2 separate regions of the Homo sapiens genome follow, and region 1 is linked to region 2. The links are contacts of gene promoters, found by promoter capture Hi-C in human tissues and cell types (Jung and others, 2019). All regions are on one chromosome and are shown on one strand. The core of a region is centred on a gene start or on the middle of the fragment in contact, and the rest is flanking DNA. Distances in the headings are between cores, read along the strand shown.

The links. Contacts are between HindIII fragments. The study calls those that stand out against the background at their distance.
Region 1: a fragment that was not itself captured here is called in contact with the fragment with the promoter of ADRA1A in region 2 in 2 of the 25 tissues and cell types used here (dorsolateral prefrontal cortex and mesenchymal stem cells).

Annotation. Positions count from the first base shown.
Region 1 is chr8:26,801,696-26,807,607 of GRCh38, reverse strand. The region is part of intron 2 of ADRA1A (adrenoceptor alpha 1A); the gene reads left to right. Among named protein-coding and RNA genes, the nearest start is that of ADRA1A, 63 kb to the left of the region's middle. The HindIII fragment of the contact is 6,498 bases long and covers 1-4,746 here.
Region 2 is chr8:26,865,704-26,871,827 of GRCh38, reverse strand. ADRA1A (adrenoceptor alpha 1A) reads left to right here and starts at 4,550. Exons shown (of 3, transcript NM_000680.4): 1 at 4,550-4,892. RefSeq lists an enhancer at 5,329-6,124. The HindIII fragment of the contact is 8,811 bases long and covers 392-6,124 here.

The sequences.
Region 1 (5,912 bases), core at 248-2,747, 61 kb after region 2:
ACTACATGCTATAATGAGACCTGAACATGCTATGGTCCTCCCCACTTTGAAGGTTCACTGTCTATTAAGAGAGACAGATACCAAAATTAACAATGCAACATGATCTTTGAGAACAGCTTCTCTGAGAGATGACATTTACTCCAAATAATAAAAATTGACCAGCAGAGGGGTTCCCTCCAGTTCTCATACACTCTTTCTAACTTAGTGGTGCCAAACATTTGTATTGCTTTGATTTCTTCAGTTAATATTTTTAGCCACCCATGTGCTTGTCACCCTTCTTGATTCTTGTACCTTCTTATTATTTAATTATCAAAAGAAGCAGCCCTGTGAAAATCTGAAAATCAGTATGATCACCCTCATGACATTGATAAAGAAGGGGAGACTAGCAGAGCTCAGTGGCTTGCCCAGGGCCCAAAGCTAATTCCTTTTAGGAGGCTATGCTTAATGGAAAGGGGTTAGATTTGTGATTCTTATGAAGGGTAATAGTTACTTGCTGTGAAAAGTATTACAAGGCTTCTTTTTGTGTCGTTTCTACTTGATACAAGAAACTTGATAAGCCAAGAGTTACTGGAATTTTAGTAAGCTCGTTCAGTGAACATGTTTATTTTTATAGCACTTTACCCCCGACATAAGTTTGACATTATTAACAGAGCCAAAGCCAAGCCACTTTGGCCCTTGGTAAAGACCCAGCTTATCAGAGTTTGGGTCCAGCTCCCTCTAGGCATCTTCTCTCATTATCACAGATGCCAGCCCCCTCCCCACCCACTCTGGGAAGCTGAGGGTGTGGCTGGTTCTCCTTTTCTAGGATGTTCCATGAGGCCACTTCTAGCAGCAGCCACTGCACGTGCTCTTCCTATTTCCTCCTTCCAGGCATGTGGCAGCTTTATGTAATGACCGAACTCTCGGTTAAGCCAGAGTAAAGAGACTTAGGGAGAAACCTCGGACTCTCTGGCGATTAGAGAGGTTCCATTCTAAGCTATAGGCCATTTCATTTACTCCCCAGTGTGAGGCATGACATCTTCCCACTAATTAATGGTGGCCCTCCTTAGTGATGAGTTGCTATCTGGATTCCCACACCATCTGGAGAGGAGTCTGGACACTGGAGTTTCTATTTTTACCAGGCTCTGGCATTGCACTTACATTCCATTTCAACTGAGCCAGAGGCCACAGAAAACTTGAATCATGCTCTTTTTTTTTCCTTACCTAAGGCCACTATTAACAGGATAAAGGGCTTTTTGCACCCTGCTATCTGTTATACAGTAAGGGAAGAGCAAAACAGAAGGCAGCTTTCGAAAAAAAAAAAAAAATCTTTGGTGTAAACACCCAGCTTCTGGGGCCAGTTCCACCTTGTCTGAAGGAAGGCTGTAGGGAAGTGATTTTGCAGTTAGGAGGCTGCATGAATTGCAACCCAGTTAAAAACAGGGCAGTGCTAATAACCCATAATGGGTCATTCTTGGAGTAAGGGGAAAAGAGAGGCAGGACAGAATGGGAACATTCGGGAGTTCGGTCATTAGGTAAAGCTGCCACATGCCTGGAAGGATAAAATAGGAAGAGCAAGCACATTGGCGGCTGCCACAAGTGGCCTCAGGGAATGTCCTAGAAAAGGAGAACCAGCCACAACCCTCAGCTTTCCAGAGTGGGTGTGGAGGGGGCCTGCACCTGCAACAGTGATAGAAGATGCCTAGGGGGAAGGGGGCACAGGCTCTGATAAGCTGTGTCTTTATCAAGGGCCAACGTCACTTGGCTTTGGCTCTGTTAATAATGCCAAATCTATGTGGGGGGGAAAATGGTTAAAAATAAATGTGTTCAAGTAATGAGCTTACTGAAGTTCCAGTAACTCTTGGCTCATCAAGATTCTTGTACCAGGTAGAAGCAACACAAAAAAGAAAGCCTTGTAATACTTTTCATAGCAAGTAATTATTACCCACCAGCTCTGGAGCTGGGGTACCAGAGTTCAAATCCAGTTCCATCTCTCACTTGTTCCATGGCCTTGGGCAAGTTACTTAGCCTCTCATGCCTGTTTCGTAATCTGTAATAACACTAATGTCTTGGTATCCTCCTAGCATTTTTGGAAAATTAAATGAGCTAATATATGGAAAGCGTTTCGAAAGTACTGGGCATAGAGTGGACACGCAGTAAGTATTCAGTCTTGTATTACCCAGAGTCTTGGTCTCCCTTCTCTAAGACAATGTTGTAGCGTAGTAGACAAGTGATTTGCTTCATCTTTAAAGTGGGAATAATTCCCACCTTGTAGATCCAAACCAGAAATATTAATTCAATGTTAACTTACTGTCTAGCTCATAACACTCAAAATGTAAGAAAGCACAATTAATAACCATACTGAGGCAATAGGTGTAAATTGAGAGTGGACAAATGAGGAAGGCGACTTCACGTGAAGAGCCAGGTAGGCAGAGGTGAGAGCCCCATTCTTGGTCGTCACAGTGGGACACAATATAACTGACGTTTTAGGATTTGATTCCTAGTCTAGAATTAGCATGCAAACAACCAACAGCATTAGAAACAAAATTCAGAGCCATACTCTTTATCTCCAGAAATAATGTCTATGAAACCTGAGTGGTGTATGTTTGTGTGTGTGCATGCATACGAGCATGTGTGTATGTGTGTATGCATGTGAGAGAGAGAGACTGACTCCGAAGCTTATTTTGATGCAAATCCTTCATTGCCCTCACTGATGAGCTATGAAATTATAATTTCAGGCTTATCTCTAGCTATTAATAACAAACAATAAGAATAAATTAAATTTATATCAGATCTTATAATTACTATTATTTTTCACACACCATCTCATTTGCTCTCTGACATAACCATCCTCGAAGCATCATATGTTCTTCCAATGAGACACACAGAGGTTACTGGTGTTATTCTGGAGTTAGATCCCAAACTCTTAGTTTAGAGGTTGATTTTTCACTTTATATGATCATTTGTCCATCAAATAGTGATATATGTCAGATAAGTCAGAGCACAACTCTGACACCCATGGAATCCATGGAGTTACGGATTCTGTCCCCAGGCAAATACTGATCTGTTTACCATCACTGTAGATTATCTTGCAATTTCTAGACTCCTACAATGAAGAAAATCATGCAGTATGAATCTTCTTGGCCTCTTTTCTTTCATTCATGATAATGATTTTGAGATGCATGTCACATGTATCAATAGTCTATTCTTTTTTATTCTAGAGTAATAGGTATAATTTTTTATACTTTCACATATCGATGAAATTTGGACTGTTTCCACTTTGGGGCTATTCCAAATAAAGCCTCTTTGAACACTCATAGACAAGCCTGCATGTGGATGTGTTTTCATGTCTCCTGGGTAAGCATTAAGGAGAGTAATGGGTCCTAAGACAGATACACATTTAACTTCTCAAGAAATTCATGGCTTATTCCCATAACCCCACCACTTTGGGGGGCCAAGGCAGGAGGATCACTTGACCCTTGAGTTTGAGACCAGCCTGGACAACATAGCAAGACCCCGACTCTAAAAAAAATTTAAAAATTAACCAAGTGTGGTGGCACACACCTGCGGCCTCAGCTACTTGGGATGCTGTGGTGGAAGGATCTCTTGAGCCCAGGAATTCAAGGTTGCAGTGAGCTATGATCTTGCCACTGCACTCCAGCCTAAGCAACAGAGTGAAATCATCTCAAAAAAAAAAAAAAAAAAAAAAGGAAACTTCCAAAATATTCTTTTGCAGAGTGATTGTAGTAGGTATGTGGTAGTATCTCATTACGCTTTTCATTTGCATGTCCCTGATGACTGGCGATGCTGAGCATCTTTTCCTGTGCTCATCAGCTATTTGTATATCTTCCTATGTCAAGTGTCTATTCTAGTCTTTCATCTGTTTTTAACTGGACTTTTAAAATTATTGAGTTGTAGCATTTCTGCATATATTCTGGATACAAGTACTTTGTTAGAAATTTATATTGTCTGTATTGTCTCGTAGGCTGTGTTTTGTCTATTTTGTTAATGCCATCTTTTGATGAGCAGAAGTTTGCATTTTGATCAAGCTTATTTATCTACTTTTACATTTATCACTTTCCAAGTCTTATCCAGGAAATATTTCACTACTCTAGGATCACAAAGGTATTTTTCGATGTTTTCTTCTTAAAGCTTTATAGGTTTAGCTTTTATGTTTATGTTCAGACTCCATACAAATTAATTTTTGTGCACAGTATAAGTATAGTTCAAGAGTCATCTTTTTTCATTTTTAATTTTTATGGATACATAGTAGGATACATTTATGGAGTACATGACATATTTTGATACAGTCATATACTGTGTAATAATCGTATCAGAATAAATGAGGTTTTCATCACCTCTAGCATTCATCATTTCTTGTTTTACAAACATTCCAATTGTACTCCCTCAGTTATTCTACAATATAAAACAAATTATTGCTGACTGTAGTCACTCTGTTATGCTATCAAATACTAGATATCATTCTTCATATCTAACTATATTTTTAGATTAACCATCCCCATTTCCCATCTTCACCCTCCCACTACGCTTCCCAGTCACTGCTAACCATCATTCTACTCTCTGTCTCCATGAGTCAGATTGTTTTAATTTTGAGCTCCCCAAAATAGATGACAACATGAGAAGTTTGTCTTTCCTTGCCTGGCTTATTTCACTTAACAAAATGTCCTCCAGTTCCATCCATGTTGTTGCAAACGACAGAACCTCATTCTTTCTTATGGCTGAATAGTATTCCATTGTGTATATGTACCACATTTGTATTATTCATTGAGCTGTTGATGGATACTTAGATTGCTTTCAAATCTTGGCTATTGTGAATAGTGTTGCCAAAAACATGGGAATGCAGATGTCTCCTCAATATATTGATTTCCTTTATTTTAGGTATATACCTAGCAGTAGGATCGCTGGATCATATGGTAGCTCTATTTTTAGCTTTTTGAGGAGCCCCCATTCTGTTCTCCATAGTGGCTGTAGTAATTCACACTCCCACCAACGGTGTATGAGAGTTCTCTTTTCTCCACATCCTCACCAGCATTTGTCATTGCCTGTCTTTTGAATAAAAGCCATTTTTACTGGGGTGAGATAACTCATTGTAGTTTTGATTTGCATTTCTCTGATGATAAATAATGTTAAGCACATTTTCATATGCCTGTTTGCCATTTGTATGTCTTCTTCTGAGAAATGTCTATTCATATCTTTCACCCATTTTTAATCAGATTATTGTATGTTTTCTTATTGAGTTGTTTGAGCTCCTTATAAATTTCGGTTATTAGTTTCTTTTTAGATGGATAGTTTGCAAAGATTTTCTCACATTCTGTGGATTGTGTCTTCACTTTGTAGATTGTTTCCTTTGCTGTGCAAAAGCTTGTTAACTTGATGTGATCCCATTTGTCCGTTTTTTTTGCTTTGGTTGCCTGTGCTTTGGGATATTACTCAATAAATGTATGCCAGCCCAACGTCCTGGAGAGTTTCTCTGATGTTTTGTTTTAGTAGTTTCATAGTCTTTAATCAACTTTCATTTGATTTTTGTATATTGCAAGAGATAAGGGTCTGGTTTAATTCTTCTGCATATGGATATCTGGTTTCCCCAGCACCATTCACTGACGAGAGTGTTCGTTCCCCAGTGTATATTCGTGGCACCTTTGTCAAAAATGAGTTCACTGTAGATGTATGAATTTATTTCTGGGTTCTTCATTCAGTTTTGTTTGTCTGTATGTCTGTTTTTATGCCGGTACCATGTTGTTATGGTTACCATAGCTCTATAGTATAATTTGAAGTCAGGTAGTGTGATTCCTCCAGTTTTGATCTTTTTGCTCTGGATACCTTTGGCTATTCTGGTTTTTTGTGGTTCCATATAAATTTTATTTATTTTATTTCATTGGTATTTCGATAGGGATTGCACTGAATCTGTAGAT
Region 2 (6,124 bases), core at 3,301-5,800:
GGGCAAGGGGAGGGAAAGCATTAGGACAAATACCTAATGCATGTGGGGCTTAAAACCTAGATGATGGGGTTGATATGTGCAGCAAACCACCACGGCACATGTACACCTATGCAACAAACCTGCACATTCTGCACATGTATCCCAGAACTTAAAGTAAAATAATAAATAAATAAGAGGATTTACCACAGTTCAAGTTATAGATCAGAATTTTTTTTAAAGCCTGAATATTTAAATATTTAATTTGTCATGACATACAGTGTCTTAGTCTGTTCAGGCTGCTATAACAAAATACCTTAGACTAGATAATTTATAAACAAAAGAAATATATTGCTCGGGAAGTTGCAAAGTCCAAGATCAAGGTGCCAGAAGATTTGATGCTAGGCAAGCGCCCATTCTTCATAGATGTCGCCTTCTGTGTGTTCTCACATGGCAGAAGGGCAAAGAGGCTCCCTCTATTATAACAGCACTAAGTCCATTCCTGAGGATGGAACCCTCGTGACCTAATCATCTTACAAAGACCCCACCTCTTAATACCATCACCTCGGAATTTAGGCTACAACATATGAATTTTGGGGAGAACACAAACATTCAGACAATAGCATATACATATAATAGAATCACTGTGGAGCTCTTATAAACCATGTTTTGGTATAAATGTAATAATAGAATGAGTTCATGATATAATATAAGTGAAAAAGTAAGATATATAATTATAGGTACAGTATGATTACACTCTTTTATATAATGTATACAATGTATAATATGTGAAATATATATGTATGCATAATAAATACATGTACATAAAATATTTCCTGGTATGTACATGTGTATATATATTTTTCCATGTATATAATTTATACACATTAACAAAAAATGAGAAAATATGACAAATATTTAACAATAGCTATTTCTCCAGTGGCAGGATTACAGATAATTTTTATTTTCATACATTTCTGTCTGACTTTTCCAAATGTGCTATTATGAGCATAAATTTTATAATTAAATACAAGTCAATAAGCATTTTAAAGTGCCTATAACAGCCCATCAGCAAGTGAAGAGATGAGATAAAAATGTGTCTGCACTTGGTACACATATTGACTTTCTTTTACTTCCATTTCCAGATGATATTGACAAAGATATTGAAAAAATTTGATTAATATGCCTCAGCTTAGATTTGCTATGCGAGAGCAAAGTCTTATTGTTTTAAAGGAATTATTTGCTGATCAGCTATAGGCTGACTTGACCTCATATTCCTACCATGATAGTCCCACAGTGTAGGGATGGGGTGGTATGACTCCCAAGACTTGGAGTATGTTATTTTCTCAGGGCAATGAAGATTTGGAAAAATGATGGCAAAGACAGAATTACTATCTCATCAAAGACATCCCTCAGCAGTATCTGTGGGCTGTGCAGTGTTCTCAGTTCGATAAAGGATTAGAACACAATGCTTCTTTGGAGAGCTGTGACTTGATACTGCATCAATACCTTTCTGAGAATTGTTTTTCATTTTCTTGCCTCTTTAACTTATTAAGCCTTAGGAGAATTAGTTGAAAAGCCAAGTCTTTGGGGTAGATACTAACATTAAGTCTTCTACTCTGTCATTTGCAATCATAAATTCCAGAACACAGCTCCTAATTCCATTGTGTATTGTTTTCTAAGGGAATGATAGACAGATTCTTTATTTTTTTAAACCTCTAAGCCTACCACACTTGCCGAGTTCCTCACTAGTCACTAAGAAAGTCCTGCCAATCAATGCATGGGTTTATGTCCATTGCTCAGCTCTTCTCCAATCAGACTCATTCCCCCAGCATCCCTGACACACCACTCTAAAATGCGGCTGCTGATGGTTCACCTTCCTCACTTTTGTCTACAAATCTCAATCCTGCTGATTCCACAAATCCTACATCAAGCAATATCATTTTATGAGTCTTTCCACAACCACCCCTTCAGGGGATTCTTCAATTTCTGTCACACCGGAAGTCTTCAGAGTATCACCCTCAGAGCCAGGCAAGAGGGACCCCGGCTAGGGTTTCAGGCTTTAGAGAGTCCAGCTCTGACTCCTTTTGGCCATAGGACTAATGTGATATGCCCACCTGGAGCCTGTGCCCTCCTTTCTAGACCATGCCCTGGGACTCAGAATCCCTTGCCCCAGATGGCCACACAATCACTTTCAGGTCCATTCTCTCTGGGCAGACAACATCACAAATGTGTGTACCCCAAGGCCTGAGGCCAAGAAGGCAGCTTTCTGGCTGTAGGGGCTGAGGTGTTCACACACATTTGCATGGCCCCTCAAGACAAAGAACAAGGGGGAAAGTGAGAAGAAAAGAAGCAGCCAGTGATCAGGGCCAGCTCTTGCAACTTAACCATGTTGGGTCATTCTGATTAAACCACTTAGCTCAAGTGTAGTGCTCAAGACACTTAGCACATTCTCCAGCTGAATTTACCAGTGTTCATGGACTACCTGGGTTAGAAATATATTTCACTATAAAGTAGCATACAAAATGAGCAGAAAGGGAGTTAATAAGATTAATAATAGAGTTAGTGAATATTATGAGCTGAGTTTTTGAGAAACGTAATTTCTTTCAACACTAATAACAACCTTGTGGGGGTTCATTGTCTCCCTTTAAAAATTAGGAAACCAAGGCTTTGCCATGGTCGCATAGGAGGGTCAGAATAGCATCTTTATGACCCCAGAGCATACTCCTCTCCACTCCACCTACCCATGTGTACAACTCAGACACTTTCTGGGATGTCCACGTCAACTATTCTTTAAAGAGTAACCAACAGATGGATAGTTTTCTGTTTGTGAATCAATGGTAGGTGACTGAAAAATTGGTTCTGAGAGGTCGTTTTGCAAGGATTGATGGTCACAGGCTGAGAAGCAGATTTGAAAGACCTACCTGCTAGCAGCATGAAGAGCTGCTCTTCCTTATCTTAGTATTAACTAGTTAATTATTGGAGGTGGGTGCAGGGGTGGATTATGTGTATTCTTAATTGTTGTAGAGTGGGGACTGGGAGTTACAAAGACTTTTGCAATTTTCGACCTTGCAGAGCTGAGCAATTTTCAGTTGCTTTGCTTGCTGATAGCACTGCTTCCCTTATCTACCATGGAACACATCTTAATGAAGAATTTGCATTCACAGCATCAGGTTAATGAATACAAAACAAAACAGTGTATATCCCTCTGATGGATGGGATTTCGGAAGCACAGACATTATACACATATTTGATGATAAAGTACTAGAAGTGCAGGGAATTGAGGTCAAGCTTCCTCCTAAGGGGACTGAATCCCAGAGAGAGCAGGTGACTTAGTAATGAGAAGTGGAGCTGTCTGTTCAACCAGGATGCTCCTCCTATGGCACGAAATTCAGTTTTAAAAATATATTAAATTCAAATCAAATGTGTTAGGTGTGAGTTCTATCCCTACAGGTATGAGGCAGAGGTGGAGGACTTTGTATACAATAGAGAAATAAATACATATATTAGGTCTTCCATGACATAGGATTTACTGACCCTCTCATGGGCATTCCTCTGAGGCATTTTGAGATTTATTGCTATAAAAGAGCCTCCCAAACATTATCTCACTTAGAAAAGGTAATCATATTAATATGATTTTGTTCACAGGAGAGAATTTAAGTGCCACTGCTTAAAGTTATCTCCTTGTTCCTAGGTTTAAGGAGACCTAGTAAATAAGAACATTCCACTTTGTCTGCATCAATAAAGATGAAAGATGACTTAGGAGGTGGGAATTGGAGTGGGAAACATTTTTCTATGTTCCCGATATTCTGAAACACATGTGACTTTATTCAATCACAAGGTAAACAGATTATGTAATTTACCAGAAAAAAAGTAATAAGACTGGTGGTGCTAGGTTTTCATACTCCAGCTATTAATGAATTAAAGAGAGTAACACTCCTGAAAGGATACCATTTTCTCAAGAAAACTGGAAAAGATTGTGTGGCATTTAAAAAATACCAAACTCTGTGGCCATAATGCTCTTAAAATTCATCTGTCTAAAGAAATTAGAAGTGAATCATATTAAATAAGGTTTAGATATGTCCACTTTATCTTCCTGAAAATATAATTTCATTACAATCAGATTTGTCATATTTTATCTGATTTTACTTGCTATTTAAAACACCTTATAATTTACTTGCATATTTAGAATTACAATATTCTTAATATACTTCTTGATCTTAACAAAACCTAGGCCAAATGTTAATCAAATCAAGCTGTTCAAAGTTACTTTATAGCACATTCCTATGAACACACCATACACACAGCAATATCTAGCAAGGGTGTCAATTTTTCGTTATTTTTAAAAGCTCATTTAAAGAAGTTATTTACTACAAATGACTCTACACACACACACGCGCGCGCGCGCGCGCACACACACACACACACACACACAAACCTTTTTAAAGAAACGCTAGAACCCAACCCCCTCTAGGCCAGAGGAAAACATTACAGCTGTATACGCACTTGTGCCTGTTGCCGTAGAGTAATACGGTAGCAGCAGGAGATTACGGTACTAGCTGGGCTACTGCCTGAGTTACGTCAGCGAGAGCTGCAAAGTTCCTTGCTATTCTTTTCTGGTGTCGGGGAGCTGAATATTAAAAGGGTGATTGTGGAGTTACCGGTTATCTGCATTTTTTTTTCTTTTCTTATTTTGACTCTTTTTAAAAAATGCAGGTAAAGTGACAGCGGTTCAGGAGCTTAAAGACATCAGTGGTGGAGGGGTGAGTCAGCGGGTGCAAAAGGACAAGGATTTGGTGCCTCGGAGACACGGTCCCCTCTCCGCCTCCAGAGAAGAGCAGGCAGGCAGCTCCCGGGACCGAAGCCGGGTCCACATCCCCCGCGCGCGAGCTGGTGGCTCAGCAGCGGCGCTTCAGGTGAGTGCGCCGGGGCCGGCGTCCCGCAGGGCCGAGTGGGTGAGGGCAGACCTCCCCCGCCGTCTGGTGAGACGGAACCCCCACTTTTCCCAGCGCCTCCCGCTTTTTCCACCAGGTTTTATACCGGCCCCTCTACCCCACCCCCGATTCCCTTACATCTTCTGCGAAGTTGCCTTCTACTGAACAAGTGTCTTTTTAACCCTGTGTTTATCACCCTCGAGGTAGGAGGAAAAGGGTTTCTGCAGTGGCACGTTTTTAATACCACCTGTGAGGTCTCCAACTTGCGATTTTAACAAGAGTCTTTGCCCGAGGTCCCACCTCAGGGCCCAACCCCAGAAGGCAAGGTGGGCACTTCCTCACGCCGCGCTGTCCTGCCGAGTCCCTGCGGTAGGTTCGCAGTTGTGGAAACCCAGGTTTCTTACGCAGATGGTGGCCCCCAGCCCAGAAAATCGAAGGCGGCCCCTGCCCGCTGGCATGCCGGCTTAATGTTTACGCCTGCAAAATCCGCAGTGACTGTCACTTGCAAAGCTCCCTCTGCAGAGGGACGTCCTCCCCACCCCGTCCCCCGCCAGTCCCGCTACGGCTGGCAGCTGGAGCCCCTCGGGTGGCCAACAGTGAGGCTTGGAAAGGCGTCGTGGACAGACCTGGGTCGCTTTCTGTCTTCGGGTCCCTCCCGGCTTCGCTCGGGACCTGGCTCTCAAGCCAGCTTGGCTGGTGGACAGACCGGTGCGCTCTGCACACCCGAGTGCGAATTCCACCGGCGTGAGAGTGAGCGTGCTCGTGGTCCTGGCCCTGAGGTCCCTGGGTCGCAGCTGTTCCCTCTCCCAGGCCGCCCCCTCCAGGTGACTGCGAGGCAACCTGTTCTAACGGAAACCGAGTACATCCTCCAGAATTCCCCGGCTAGGATCCGTGCGACACACTCGCCAGCCGCAGTCGCCCCTCCGGGGCTTCGAGGATTTTAATTTCGTGGTACCTGCGCTCGAAATCCAGACTTCGAGCGCTGGAGCCTGGGGTTTTGGGGATTTGTTTTTTTGTTTGTTTTTCGCTTCGGATCCTGAACTCGGGCAGAGGTGACTCAGTAGAGTGCGCTAGGCAGGTTCCCAGTGGTGGGGGCGCGAGATGAGCTCCGAAGTCGCCTCCACCGCTGCCGGGCGAAGCAGCTTCTGGACCGCAGAACCAACCCGGCTCCCAACTGGTGTCCCCCAACCCGTCAAGCTCAGCACAGCCTCTTT